2 separate regions of the Homo sapiens genome follow, and region 2 is linked to region 1. Evidence: promoter capture Hi-C in human tissues and cell types (Jung and others, 2019). All regions are on one chromosome and are shown on one strand. Each heading gives the region's core, a stretch centred on a gene start or on the middle of the fragment in contact. The rest is flanking DNA. Distances are from core to core; before and after follow the strand shown. Region 1 holds the start of ZNRF4 (zinc and ring finger 4). Region 2 has its middle 13 kb from the start of TINCR.

Region 1 (6,768 bases), core at 2,125-4,624:
CCAGGTGCGGCCGGGCGCGGTGGCTCATGCCTGTAATCCCAGCACTTTGGGAGGCCGATGCGGGCGGATCACGAGGTCAGGAGATCGAGACCATCCTGGCTAATGCAGTGAAACCCCGTCTCTACTAAAAATACAAAAAATTAGCCGGGCATGGTGGTGGGCGCCTGTAGTCCCAGCTACTCGGGAGGCTGAGGCAGGAGAATGCCGTGAACCTGGGAGGCAGAGCTTGCAGGGAGCTGAGATGGTGCCACTGCACTCCAGCCTGGGCGACACAGCGAGACTCCGTCTCAAAAAAAAAAAAAAAAAAAAGAATAAGCCAGGTGCCTCCCTTTGGGTTGGCACGGTGCCTGAGTTTTCCCCATCACAGTTTGATCACTCAATATTTTATTTTTAGAGGTGGGGTCTTGCTCTGTGGCCCGCTGCTGGAGTGCCACAGCATGATCAGAGCTCACTGCAGCCTCAAACTCCCAGGCTCAAGCGATGTTCCCGCTTCAGCCTCCCGAGTAGCTGTGATCACCCAATATTATAACTGGGCTGTGGGCAGGTCACTTAGGCCATCAACAAATGCAAACAGAGCACTTCGTACGTGGTAGGCACTATGCTTAGCACCGTCCATGCTCAGCGAACCCCGCAGTGCAGGTGCTGATGCTGCCTCCTCTTTACAGAAGGGGCAACTGAGGCTCACAGTGGCTGAATGGTGGAGTGAAGCCACATGGCCTGGAGTCTGGTGCACAGAAGGGCCCGGGAAAAGCTCATTTCCATCCCCAGGGACAGTGAGCTCACTCACCACTGAAGGAGGCCTAAGCTGGAGGTGTGGGGATTCATTCATTCAACAAATATGTATTGGGCAGCCATTGAAGGCCAGGTTACTCAAGTGTGTCCGAGTGACAGGTGGTGTTGGACGCCTCCAACATCTGTTGTCTTGTCCTCCATAGTAATAGAAGCCCTGGTTTTCAGCTGCACAGTTGGCCATTCAGAATAAATACTACATTTCCCAGCAAGCTTTCTGCCAGGCATGGCCACGTGACTAATTCTGGCCAATGCAGTGTGAGCAGAAGTGGTGCCTGGGATTTCCAAGAAGTGTCCTTAAAGGGACAGGGTGAGCTCTTCCTCACTCTTTCCTCCTCATTGCCTGGGAGGCAGATGTGATGGCTGGAGCTCACGCACCTGCCTTGTCCCACGAGGAGGAGGCCATTTACTGAGGATATGGTGGATGGAAGGAGTCTGGGCTGCAGACACCCCAGCATCTCCATGCCATCCCAGGAATGACTACTCACATTCCACATTCAGAAGCAAATCAGCCCTGTACGCCTACACCGCTGTGGTTGGGTCTTGCTTACCACAGCCAACCCGAGCCTGACCGCTACATTTGTCCCTCTCTGCTTCTGTTTTTCCACTCTTGCCTCCTCTCATGCCTGCTGGACTGAAAAACCTGCCTCTGCTTGGTAGCACTGGGCTGCAAGGGCCATCCACAGTGGCCAAGGCAGTGGCCTCTAGATAGTGTGGCCTCCGTCTGTGGCAGTAGACAGAGCAGGGGCAGGAGTGCCACCAGGGGCCGGGCATGGTGGCTCACAAATGTAACCCCAGCACTTTGGGAGGCTGAGACTGGCAGATCACTTGAGGTCAGGAGTTCGAGACAAGCCTGGGCAACCTAGCAAAACCCCCGTTTCTATTAAGATACAAAAATTAGCCGGGCATGGCAGCATGTGCTCGTGGCCTCAACTGATCTGCCCGCCTCGGGCTCCTAAAGTGCTAGGATTACGGACATGAGCCACCATGCCCGGCCTTTTCTCCCTTTCTTAGAAGGAAAACCTCTGCAAAGATCTTATTTCCAAATAAGGTCCATTCACAGGGGTTGGTCAGAACCAGGGGTTAGGGGTTCAACATCTCTATTTGGGGCCCACCCACTACATGGTACAAGAGATTTGTGTGGGAGGTGATCTCAGAAGCTGTGGGAGGGGAGAGAAGTGGGTGGGGAAGGGAAGGAGACAGTAGCGGGCTCATTGACAAGACAGTACTGGGTTCGTTGACTTATGGAGCTCATTCGACTGGGGACCTCTAGGAGATATGGTAGAACATACTTCGATTTGTCCCATAAGAGGGACGAGGGAGTGGGGGCATTTATCTACCACCTCCCATCTGTCACTGGCTGAGGGCTGCTCTGAGAGGTATTAGGCCAACACAGAAAATCTAAAGACTAAGTAGTCAGCCTGGCAAAGTGAAGTTGAGGAGCAAGAATTCTGTTCCAGGCAGAGGGAACAGCATTTGCAAAATTCTAGAGGTGAACAAAGCAAGATGCCTCTGGGACATTGCAAATCATCCAGGCTTCAGAGATTGGCAGGCGCCCAACCACAGGGGTGCATGTAGGCCACAGAGAAGAGTGTGGGCTTTATCTGGAGGGCAATGGGGAGCCATGGGAGAGTTTAGAGCATGGGAAAGACTATGTTACAGGTCTGGAAGCTGAGGCCCAGAGAGGCTAAGGAATTTAGCTGATGTCATACAGCTTATGAATGGCAGAGACAGAAATCCGACTTGAGTGGGCTGCAGACAGATTGAGGGTGTGAAATTTGGGGGATGGGGACTGGGGAGGAGGTGAGGCTGATGCCCAGGGCTGAAGCTCAGGCAGGGGGCACAGTTGGAGACCCAGCTGGAGAGGCAATGCTATAGGGAGAGAGAATGAAGCTGGTGCAAGCCTGGAGGCCAACCTGGCGGTGCGGACTTGGGACCACTGACCCCCACCAGCCCCACCCTGACCCTGGCACTTGACTCTCCCTCCAAATCAAGTCCAGGAGGGCTCTGAGGATATATGGACTCAGACCTGAGTCCGGATAAAAGAGCCAGCTACGGAGAGAAAGGGCTTTCCAGGCAGGAGGCCCAGCCCATGCAAAGGCCCTGGGGCAGGATCCTGCCTGGTGTGTTGGAGGAACAGCAAGGAGATCTGTGTGGCTGGAGCAGAGTGAGGGATGGTGACAGGGGGTCAGGAATTTGGGTTTTAAGCACTGATCTCATTGTAGGGGGGCGTGGCTTGAACAAGTCTGGGTCACTCTTGGAGTCTCAGACAAGGGTAACATTGAACCTTCTACAGTGTGTTGCTAGGAACCTCCAGAAGCTGATGCTGGTAGCGTCTTCGCACAGTGAGGGCTGAATCTGCACTGCTGGGGGCCGGCAGCCCTTTTGAAGCATCCCTGGGCCTCCTTGGGTCCAAAGATACCCTGAGCCTTCAAGAAGTTATCTCAAAGCTTGCCCGGGTACCGGCAAATCACAGACCTAGGAATGATCCATTGGCCACAGGCCCAGGCAGCTGGCAGCTCCTGGGACAGAATGTAGCAGGGCGATGTCACAGAAGCTGGGGGCATCTAGAACCCTGGTGACTCCTGGTCTCCATGTCATCTGCCAGAAAGGCCACCTGCGCCAGCACCTCCTGAGACCGGCCTTCAAAGACACGACGCATGCCGCTCTGCCGTCCGGAGCACTTAATGCCTAGAGCCAGCAGGGTCCCAGTGGCCGCGTCACTGCCTCTGAGCCACGCGGTCATTCCAACTCAACTGCCCTCGCGTCCTGGCCACAGGCCCCCTGGGAGACCCCGGAGATGCCCAAAGGCCTCATGCCTGCCGCCTCCAGTGGGACCTAGCAGCACACAGACAGCGAAGCGGGTGACCATGGGGTGGCCACGGCCGGGCCGAGCCCTCGTGGCAGTCAAAGCCTTGCTGGTCTTGTCGCTGCTCCAGGTGCCCGCGCAGGCAGTGGTACGGGCCGTGCTGGAAGACAACTCGAGCTCGGTGGACTTTGCGGATCTGCCGGCGCTGTTCGGCGTCCCCCTGGCCCCCGAGGGCATACGGGGCTACCTGATGGAGGTCAAGCCAGCCAACGCGTGCCATCCCATCGAGGCCCCGCGACTGGGCAACCGCTCTCTGGGCGCCATCGTGCTGATCCGCCGCTACGACTGCACCTTCGACCTCAAGGTGCTGAACGCCCAGCGCGCCGGCTTCGAGGCGGCCATCGTGCACAACGTCCACTCCGACGACCTCGTGAGCATGACCCACGTCTACGAGGACTTGAGGGGCCAGATCGCCATCCCCTCAGTGTTCGTGAGCGAGGCCGCCTCGCAGGACCTGCGGGTCATCCTGGGCTGCAACAAGTCGGCCCACGCGCTGCTCCTGCCCGACGACCCACCGTGCCACGACCTGGGCTGTCACCCCGTGCTGACCGTGTCCTGGGTGCTGGGCTGTACCCTGGCCCTGGTCGTATCAGCCTTCTTTGTCCTGAACCACCTGTGGCTCTGGGCCCAGGCCTGCTGCAGCCACAGACGGCCGGTGAAGACGTCTACCTGCCAGAAGGCCCAGGTCCGCACCTTCACGTGGCACAACGACCTGTGTGCCATCTGCCTGGATGAGTATGAGGAGGGCGACCAACTCAAGATCCTGCCCTGCTCCCACACCTACCACTGCAAATGCATTGACCCCTGGTTCTCCCAAGCCCCCCGGCGCTCCTGCCCCGTGTGCAAACAGTCGGTGGCCGCCACAGAAGACAGCTTTGACTCCACCACCTACAGCTTCAGGGACGAGGACCCCTCCCTACCGGGCCACCGGCCCCCCATCTGGGCCATTCAAGTCCAGCTACGCTCCCGGAGGCTGGAGCTGCTGGGCCGCGCCAGTCCCCACTGCCACTGCAGCACCACGTCCCTGGAGGCAGAGTATACCACTGTCTCCTCAGCCCCTCCTGAGGCCCCTGGTCAGTAAAGATCTAGGGCAGGGAGGGGGGTGCAATGAGGAATGTTTCTGGTCTGAAAAGAATAAAGTGGGTTTGAAAGCGGATTCTCAGCCTCGCTGCTGTTGGGCCACCCGCCTCTGACTGGGGTTGGGGGACACCCATCCCCATCAAGCCTAAGGCCAATCCCCGTTTCTGCGGGCGGGAGAGCGAGGGGTGGTGAGGGCTGGGGGGCCTTTTTGGGGCGGCTGTGACCGTGGTGCCGGAGTGGCTTTGAGACGGGTCGTCTGTGCTTTGGTTCCAGTCCCGGGCACACGGGTCACTCATCCTGGATGGCCTTATTCTTCATTCACATTTTTTCTTTTAAAATAAACGTTTTATTTTGGAACTGGTTTAGATTTCCAGAAAAGTTGCAAAGGTGCCATAGAGTTCTCCAACCCCTTTTACTCCGTTTCCTCTTATGTCTCATGGGATCCCAGGTGTGATGGGATGGGAGGCCGAGGTGGGAGGTTCGCTCAAGGTTAGAGGTTTGAGACCAGCCTGGGCAACATAACAAGACCCCACCTCTACAAAAAAATTTTCTTAGGCCGGGCGTAGTGGCTTACGCCTGTAATCCCAGCACTTTAAGAAGCCAAGGCGGGCGGATCATGAGGTCAGGAGATCAAGACCATCCTGGCCAACATGGTGAAACCCTGTCTCTACTAAAAACTACAAAAATGAGCTGGGCGTGGTGGTGCGTGCCTGTAGTCCCAGCTGCTCGCTACTCAGGAGGCTGAGGCAGGAGAATTGCTTGAACCCAGGAGGTGGAGGTTGCAGTGAGTTGAGATCACGCCACTGCACTCCAGCCTAGCGACAGTGAGGCTCCGTCTCAAAAAAGAAAAAAAAATTCATTAGCCAAGTGTGGTGATACATGCCTGTAGTTCCAGCTACTTGGGAGGCTGAGGTGGGAGGATTGCTGGAGCCTGGGAGGTGAGCTATGATCACACCACTGCACTTCAGCTCGGGCAACAGAGTGAGACCCTGTCTCAAAAAAAAAAAAAAAAAATGCAAGGAGGCAAGGGAGTTTTCTGGGCAGTGAGGGGGCTGTTTGACCATGCTCCGACGAGAAATAGCTACTAGGTGAGGTCATAGGAGCAAAAGGGTCAAGGTCGCCTCTGAGACATTCCCTGGAACAGTGTGAATGTGAGAGTCACGTGCAAGATTCCGACTGAAGCCCAAGCAACCTCCAGAGAGCGCCCACTCTGTGCCAGACGCGGTTCCAGGCACACAGACACAGCAGTGAACAAAACAGGGGAAAGTCCCTGCTCTCCAGGGACTGCTATTCCAGGGTGGGGGATAGATACAAAGTATATAATTAAATAAATGAGCAGGGAGATGTCAGCACGAGATAAATCCTGGGGCTAAAACACAAGGGGGTCATGAGATGGAGAGAGCTTGGCGGATGATCAGGGAGATCACGGAGGAAACATGAGAACCGAGACTCAGGGCCGGGCACAGTGGCTCACGCCTGCACTCCCAGCACTTCGGGAGTCTGAGGTTAGCAAATCGCTTGAGTCTAGGAGTTCGAGACCAGCCTGGGCAACATAGTGAAACTCCATCTCTCCAAAAAAATACAAAAATTAGCGGGGTATGGTGGTGCACACCTATAGTCCCAGCTACTCAGGAGGCTGAGACGGGAGGATCACCTGAGCCCAGGAGCTCAAAGCTGCAGTGAGCTATGATTGCACCACTGCACTCCAACCTGGGTGACAGAGTGAGACCCTGTCTCAACAAAAACAAAAACAAAAAACACAAACTGAGACTGAAAGGGGAGGAAGGAGGCGTTAGTGCAGGAAGGATATTCCAGGCAGAGTGTACAGCCCATGCAAAGGCCCTGCGACAGGACTGCACCTGACATGTTGGAGGAACAGCCAGAAGCCCATATGGCAGCAGCAGAGTGAGTCAGAGGGGAGAGGGAGGAGCGTGGGAAGGGGATAGGGCAGGTCGTGCAGGCCCTCGTAGAGCTTAGTAAGGAACAGATTTTGGGCCAGGTGTGGTGGCTCACGCCTGTAATCCCAGTAC
Region 2 (6,768 bases), core at 1,732-4,231, 99 kb after region 1:
TGTTTCCCTTGCCTCCATAACTGTTGTGGGTATTGACGGCCAGGCTTCAAAACCCCTGAAAACTCCCCCACTCTGGTGCCAACTTAGACAACACTCTTTTATGCACTCTTTTTTAGTTATCCCCACCTGCCCAGTTCCCTTATTAGGCCGAGATACTTTAACCAAATTATCTGCTTCCCTGACTATTCCTGGACTACAGCCGCATCTCATTGCCGCCCTTCTCCCCAGCCCAAAGCTTCCTTCACGTCTTCCTCTCGTATCCCCCCACCTTAAGCCACAAGTATGGGACATCTCTACTCCTTCCCTGGCAACTGATCACATGCCCATTACCATCCCATTAAAACCTAATCACCCTTACCCCGCTCAACGCCAATATCCCATCCCACAGCATGCTTTAAAAGGATTAAAGCCTGTTATCACTCGCCTGCTATAGCATGGGCTTCTAAAACCTATAAACTCTCCTTACAATTCCCCCATTTTACCTGTCCGAAAACCGGATAAGTCTTACAGATTAGTTCAGGATCTGCGTCTTATCAACCAAATTGTTTTGCCATCCACCCTGTGGTGCCCAACCCGTACCCTCTTTTGTCCTCAATCCGTTCCTCCACAACTCACTATTCTGTTCTCCATCTTAAAGATGCTTTTTTCACTGTTCCCCTGCACCCCTCGTCCCAGCCTCTCTTTGCTTTCACTTAGACTGACCCTGACACCCATTAGGCTCAGCAAATTACCAAGGCTGTACTGCTGCAAAGCTTCACAGACAGCCCCCATTACTTCAATCAAGCACAAATTTCTTCCTCATCTGTTACCTATCTCGGCATAATTCTCAAAAACACACGTGCTTTCCCTGCCAATCGTGTCCGACTGACCTCTCAAACCCCAGCACCTACAAAACAACAACTCCTTTCCTTCCTAGGCATGGTTAGCGTGGTCGGAATTCTTACACAAGAGCCAGGACCACACCCTGTAGCCTTTCTGTCCAAACAACTTGACCTTACTGTTTTAACCTAGCCCTCATGTCTGCGTGCAGCGGCTGCTGCTGCTTTAATACTTTTAGAGGCCCTCAAAATCACAAACTTTATCAGTCCTCCAGGCCCAAGTTGACTCTTTAGCTGCAGTTGTCCTCCAAAACCACCGAGGCCTTGACTGACTTACTGCTGAAAAAGGAGGACTCTGCATATTCTTAAATGAGGAGTGTTGTTTTTACCTAAATCAATCTGGCCTGGTGTATGACAACATAAAAAAACTCAAGGATAGAGCCCAAAAACTTGCCAACCAAGAAAGTAATTACGCTGAACCCCCTTGGGCACTCTCTAATTGGATGTCCTGGGCCCTCCCAATTCTTAGTCCTTTAATACCCATTTTTCTCCTCCTTTTCTTCAGACCTTCTATCTTCCGTTTAGCTTCTCAGTTCATTGAAAACCGTATCCAGGCCATCACCAATCATTCTATACGACAAATGTTTCTTCTAACATCCCCACAATATCACCCCTTACCACAAGACCTCCCTTCAGCTTAATCTCTCCCACTCTAGGTTCCCACGCCGCCCCTAATCCCGCTCGAAGCAGCCCTGAGAAACATCGCCCGTTCTCTCTCCATACCACCCCCCAAAAATTTTCGCCGCTGCAACACTTCAACACTATTTTGTTTTATTTGTCTTATTAATATAAGAAGGCAGGAATGTCAGGCCTCTGAGCCCAGGCCAGGTCATCGCATCCCCTGTGACTTGCACGTATACATCCAGATGGCCTGAAGTAACTGCAGATCCACAAAAGAAGTAAAAACAGCCTTAACTGGTGATATTCCACCATTGTGATTTGTTCCTGCCCCACCCTAACTGATCAATGTACTTTGTAGTCTCCCCCACCCTTAAGAAGGTTCTTTGTAATTCTCCCCACTCTTGAGAATGTACTTTGTGAGATCCACCCCTGCCCACCAGAGAACAACCCCCTTTGACTGTAATTTTCCATTACCTTCCCAAATCCTATAAAACGGCCCCACCCCTATCTCCCTTCGCTGACTCTCTTTTCGGACTCAGCCGGCCTGCACCCAGGTGAAATAAACAGCCATGCTGCTCACACAAAGCCTGTTTGGTGGTCTCTTCACATGGACACGCATGAAACCTACTGTGTACTTTGCTTTCTTTGCTCTTGGTGATTCCCCAAAAAACTTATCTCAACATATAAGGATTTTTCTTTTCTTTTTTTTTTTTTGTTTGAGACGGAGTCTCGCTCTGTCGCCCAGGCTGGAGTACAGCGGCGCGATCTCGGCTCACTGCAAGCTCCGCCTCCCGGGTTCACGCCATTCTCCTGCCTCAGCCTCCGGAGTAGCTGGGACTACAGGCGCCCGCTGCCACGCCCGGCTAATTTTTTTGTATTTTTAGTAGAGATGGGTTTCACCGTGTTAGCCATAATGGTCTCAATCTCCTGACCTCATGATCCGCCTGCCTTGGCCTCCCAAAGTGCTGGGATTACAGGCGTGAGCCACCGCGCCCGGCTGTTTTTTTTTTTTTTTACTTGCCTTTTTCCAAATGAGAAAACCAAGGCTCAGAGAGGTCAGTGGTGCAATCTCGGCTCACAGCAACTTCCGCCTCCCGGGTTCAAGGGATTCTAGTGCCTCAGCCTCCCAAGTACCTGGGATCACAGGCATCCGCCATCACACCCAGCTAATTTTTGTATTTTTAGTAGAGACAGGGTTTCGCCATGTTGTCCAGGCTGGTCTCGAGCTCATGACCTCAGGTGATCCGCCCACCTTGGCATCCCAAACTGCTGGGGTAGGATTTTCTTTTTTACTTCCCTTTTTCCAAATGAGAAAACCAAGGCTCAGAGAGGAAGAGCGTGTTGCCCCAAGTGGCCCAGCAGAGCCACAGCCTTGCCCCCAGCAGCTCTGGCTCTAATGCATTCCAGACTCCTCCCATCAGCCAACTGCCTCCCATCCTCTAATAAACTTCTGAGAAGCGCTGGGCAGATGCAGTGGCGCCCACGCTCTTTATCTGCCCAGATCAGGCCGGCTCAGCAGAGCAGTCGATAATTAATTCTGAATTCTCCCCATTTATCACGGCGGCAGGAGCCAGAGTGCCTGGAATCCCAATCCCAAACCTCCGTGCCCCTTGGTCACCTGGACCAAGGCCCAGTGGTGGCAGGAACTATGGTGGAGAGGGGGCCTCATTGAGCCTGGGAAGGGAGCAAAGGTGTTCCTGGCTCCCCACCGCTCCCTGGCGCTGGGTTATTAAACGCTGTGTACTGCAGCAGTGACCAAACCAGACCTCTTCCCCGTCTTCATGGTGCCCACAGGCTAGTGGGGAAAACATACATTGAATGAATAATAATATAAATAATTAATGCTACAAAGGAAAAGAACAAGATGTTGTGAGAATACAAAACAACAGGAACATAACTTGTTTTGGGGGCCTCCCCAAGGAAGTGACATTGAACCTGCAAATCACAGGGTGAAAGGTGAAAGGTTGGGAGAGGGTATTTCATATACAGAAATAGCCCATGCAGGCTGGGTGCGGTGGCTCACAGCACTTTGGGAGGCCAAGGCGGGCGGATCACCTGAGGTCAGGAGTTGAAGACCAGCCTGGCCAACATGGTGAAACCCCGTCTCTACTAAAAATACAAAAATTAGCAGGGCATGGCGATGTGTGCCTGTAGTCCCAGCTACTCAGGAGGCTGAGACAGGATTCTCACCTCCTGGTTCGCTTGAACCCAGGAGGTGGAGGTTGCAGTGAGCTAAGATAGCGCCATTGCACTCCAGCCTGGGCAACAGAGCTAGACTCTGTCTCAAAAAAAGAAAAAAAAGAAAGAAAAGAAAAGAAATAGCCTGTGAAAAAAACCTTGTGGCTGGAGCCCAGCAAGGGGTTTAGTAGGTCTGAAGCTTAAAGCACAAGTGTGAGGTCAGTGCCAAGTCAGGGGACCTCAGGGCCAGGCCTGGAGCCCTCATAGTGAGGCCAGCAGCCTTCAGTGGATAGCCAGGGGCCACCAAGGAAAGAGATGGATAAGTTTCCGTGATGCTCCAAGGGGTGGTAGTGAGGCTGCTTCTGCCCCAGGTGCATCACCCTGCAAGGTCAGTGGTCGGCTCTGTGTTGTTTTTTTTTTTTTTTTTTGGTTTGTTTGTTTTTGAGACGGAGTCTCGCTCTGTTGCCAGGCTGGAGTGCGGTGGCGTGATCTTGGCTCACTGCAACCTCCGCCTCTCGGGTTCAAGCAATTCTGCCTCAGCCTCCCAAGTAGCTAGGACTACAGGCGCCTGCCACCACGCCTGGCTAATTTTTATATTTTTAGTAGAGACAGGGTTTAACCATGTCGGCCAGAATAGTCTCGATCTCTTGACTTCGTGATCTGCCCGCCTCAGCCTCCCAAAGTGCTGGGATTACAGGAGTGAGCCACTGCGCCTGGCCGGGTTTTTTTTTCTTTCTTATGACTGTTTTCCTTTTTGAGGGTTCTTTCAAATCCATTTGGGCACGGGGGTTAGTCAGGATTTGTCTGCCAGCAAACACCGAATGCCTGGCTATCCCAAACACTTCCCTTCTTGGGCAGGCAGGGAAACTGAGGCCCAGCGAGGGACAAAGAACACCCAAGGTCATTCAGAGGAAGGTTGTGTGTGGGAGAGGTTTCTGGGGAGTCTCAGGGGCCATGCGCTTGCCCTGCAGCTTCTGTGGCTTTTGTTGGGCCGTGAACTCCGTGGGGAGCTTGACTGGGTATCCTAGTCACCACGCTGTCCTCAGAGCCCTGCAAACTGGAGGTGCTTAATCAGTGATTGTGGAATGCATGATCCCAGCAGCTTCTGAAGACACCCCAGAGGTCATGCTTACGATATTGGAAGGAAAGGGGGTCTTTTTTTCTTTTTCTTTTTTTTTGAGATGGAGTCTTGCTCTGTTACTCAGGCTGGAGTGCAGTGGCACAATCTCGGCTCACTGCAAGCTCCGCCTCCCGGGTTCACGCCATTCTCCTGCCTTAGCCTCCCAAGTAGCTGGGACTACAGGTGTGCACCACCACCACGCCTGGCTATTTTTTTGTATTTTTAGTAGAGACAGGGTTTTGCCATGTTGCCCATGTCCAGGCTGGTCTCGAACTCCTAGCCTCCAGCAATCCTCTAGCCTTGACCTCCTAAAGTGCTAGGATTACAGGCATGAGCCACTGTGCCCAGCCAACTAATGTTTTCATTATTTATTTTTTAAATTTTAATGTTATATTTCTTAATTTTTTATTTTATTTTTATTTATTTATTTATTTATTTTTGAGATGGAGTCTTGCTCTGTCGCCCAGGCTGGAGTGTAGTGGCGCAATCTCGGCCCACTGCAAGCTCCACCTCCCGGGTTCACGCCATTCTCCTGCCTCAGCCTCTCGAGTAGCTGGGACTACAGGCACCCGCCACCACACCCAGCTAATTTTTCACTGTGTTAGCCAGGATGGTCTCAATCTCCTGACCTCGTGATCCGCCCGCCTCAGCCTCCCAAAGTGAGCCACCGCGCCCAGCCTATTTTTTCTTTTTTTTTTTTTTTCTAGAGACAGGGTCTCGTTCTGTCACCCAGTCTGGAGTGCAGTGGTATGGTTATAGCTCACCGTGGTCTCAAACTCCTGGGCTCAAGTGATCCTCCTGCCTCAGCCTCCCAAGTAGCTGGGACCACAGGGGCATGCCACCACACCTGGATAATTTTTAAATGCTTTTGTAAAGGCTGGGTCTCGCCATGTTTCCCAGGCTGGTTTCGAACTCCTAGGTTCAAGCAATCCTCCTGCCTCGGTCTCCCAAAGTGTTGGGATTATAGTCATGAGCCACTGAGCCTGGCCTAGGGAAAGAGGGGTCTTTTTCAATAGGAGATTTGAGAAAAAAATACAGAGACATGGAGAGAGACAGAGACTGAGATGCAGACGAACTGAGAAACGCAGAGAGAGAGATATTGAAGAGAGGGAGAGATAACGAGATACAAACAGAACCACAGACAGAAATGGAGCGACAGAGAGCAGATGAAAAAGAGGCCGGGCGCAGTGGCTGATGCCTGCAATCCCAGCACTTCGGGTGGCCGAGACGGGTAGATGGCTTGAGCCCAGGAGTTTGAGAACAGCCTGGGCAACATGGCGAAACCCCATCTCTACAAAAATTTAAAAATTAGCTGGGTGTGGTGGCGTGTGCCTAAAATCCCAGCTACTCAAGAGCCTGAGGCGGGAGGATCGCTTGAGCTGGGGAGGTTGAGGCTGCAGTGATCTGTGATTGTGCCACCGCACTCCAGCCTGGACAACAGAACAAGACCCTGTCTCAACAAAAATAAAATAAGAGACTGAGACACAGAGACAGATGAAGGGAGAGGAGAGAGAGAGAAAGAAAGATGGCAAGGTCAGAACCAGCACTAACTTGTATGGGAGCTGTTGGATGAATTACAAAGAAGGGCCCCTTCCTGGGGCCCTCTCACCTCTGCAGCTGGGTCCTCTTGTGCAGTGAACAACCTGCCCCACTGTCTGTGGCAGCCGGAGCAGCATCTGTCTTTATATCTCTCATTGAATGAATGCTCAGAGTTAGGAGAATGCCAGAGCCCAGCCTGGAGTCGCACAGAAAGAGAACAGAGAGATAGAGGCAGGGCAGGAAGGAAGTGGCAATTCCAGGTCCTGGCAGTTTCTGGCTAAACCGCTGACATCTCCTCTGGGAACCGCCTGGGCTCACTTGCCCCCTAGGAGAATTCCCTTGGACCTTCTTGGAGCACAAACTAGGTGGGCGGCCAAGACGGGAGGTGGCCCCTCCCCAGAACGCCGCGGGCCTTAGCGAGACGGCAGCTGC

What was found. The method cuts DNA at HindIII sites, captures the fragments that hold promoters and counts their contacts. A contact is called where the count stands out against the background at its distance.
Region 2: a fragment that was not itself captured here is called in contact with the fragment with the promoter of ZNRF4 in region 1 in 2 of the 25 tissues and cell types used here (IMR-90 fibroblasts and mesendoderm cells).

Annotation. Positions count from the first base shown.
Region 1 is chr19:5,452,043-5,458,810 of GRCh38, forward strand. It overlaps ZNRF4 (zinc and ring finger 4), which reads left to right and starts at 3,375. Exons shown (of 1, transcript NM_181710.4): 1 at 3,375-4,814. The coding sequence starts at 3,450. The coding sequence ends at 4,739. The HindIII fragment of the contact is 14,927 bases long and covers 2,121-6,768 here.
Region 2 is chr19:5,551,091-5,557,858 of GRCh38, forward strand. No RefSeq gene overlaps it. Among named protein-coding and RNA genes, the nearest start is that of TINCR, 13 kb to the right of the region's middle. The HindIII fragment of the contact is 4,976 bases long and covers 494-5,469 here.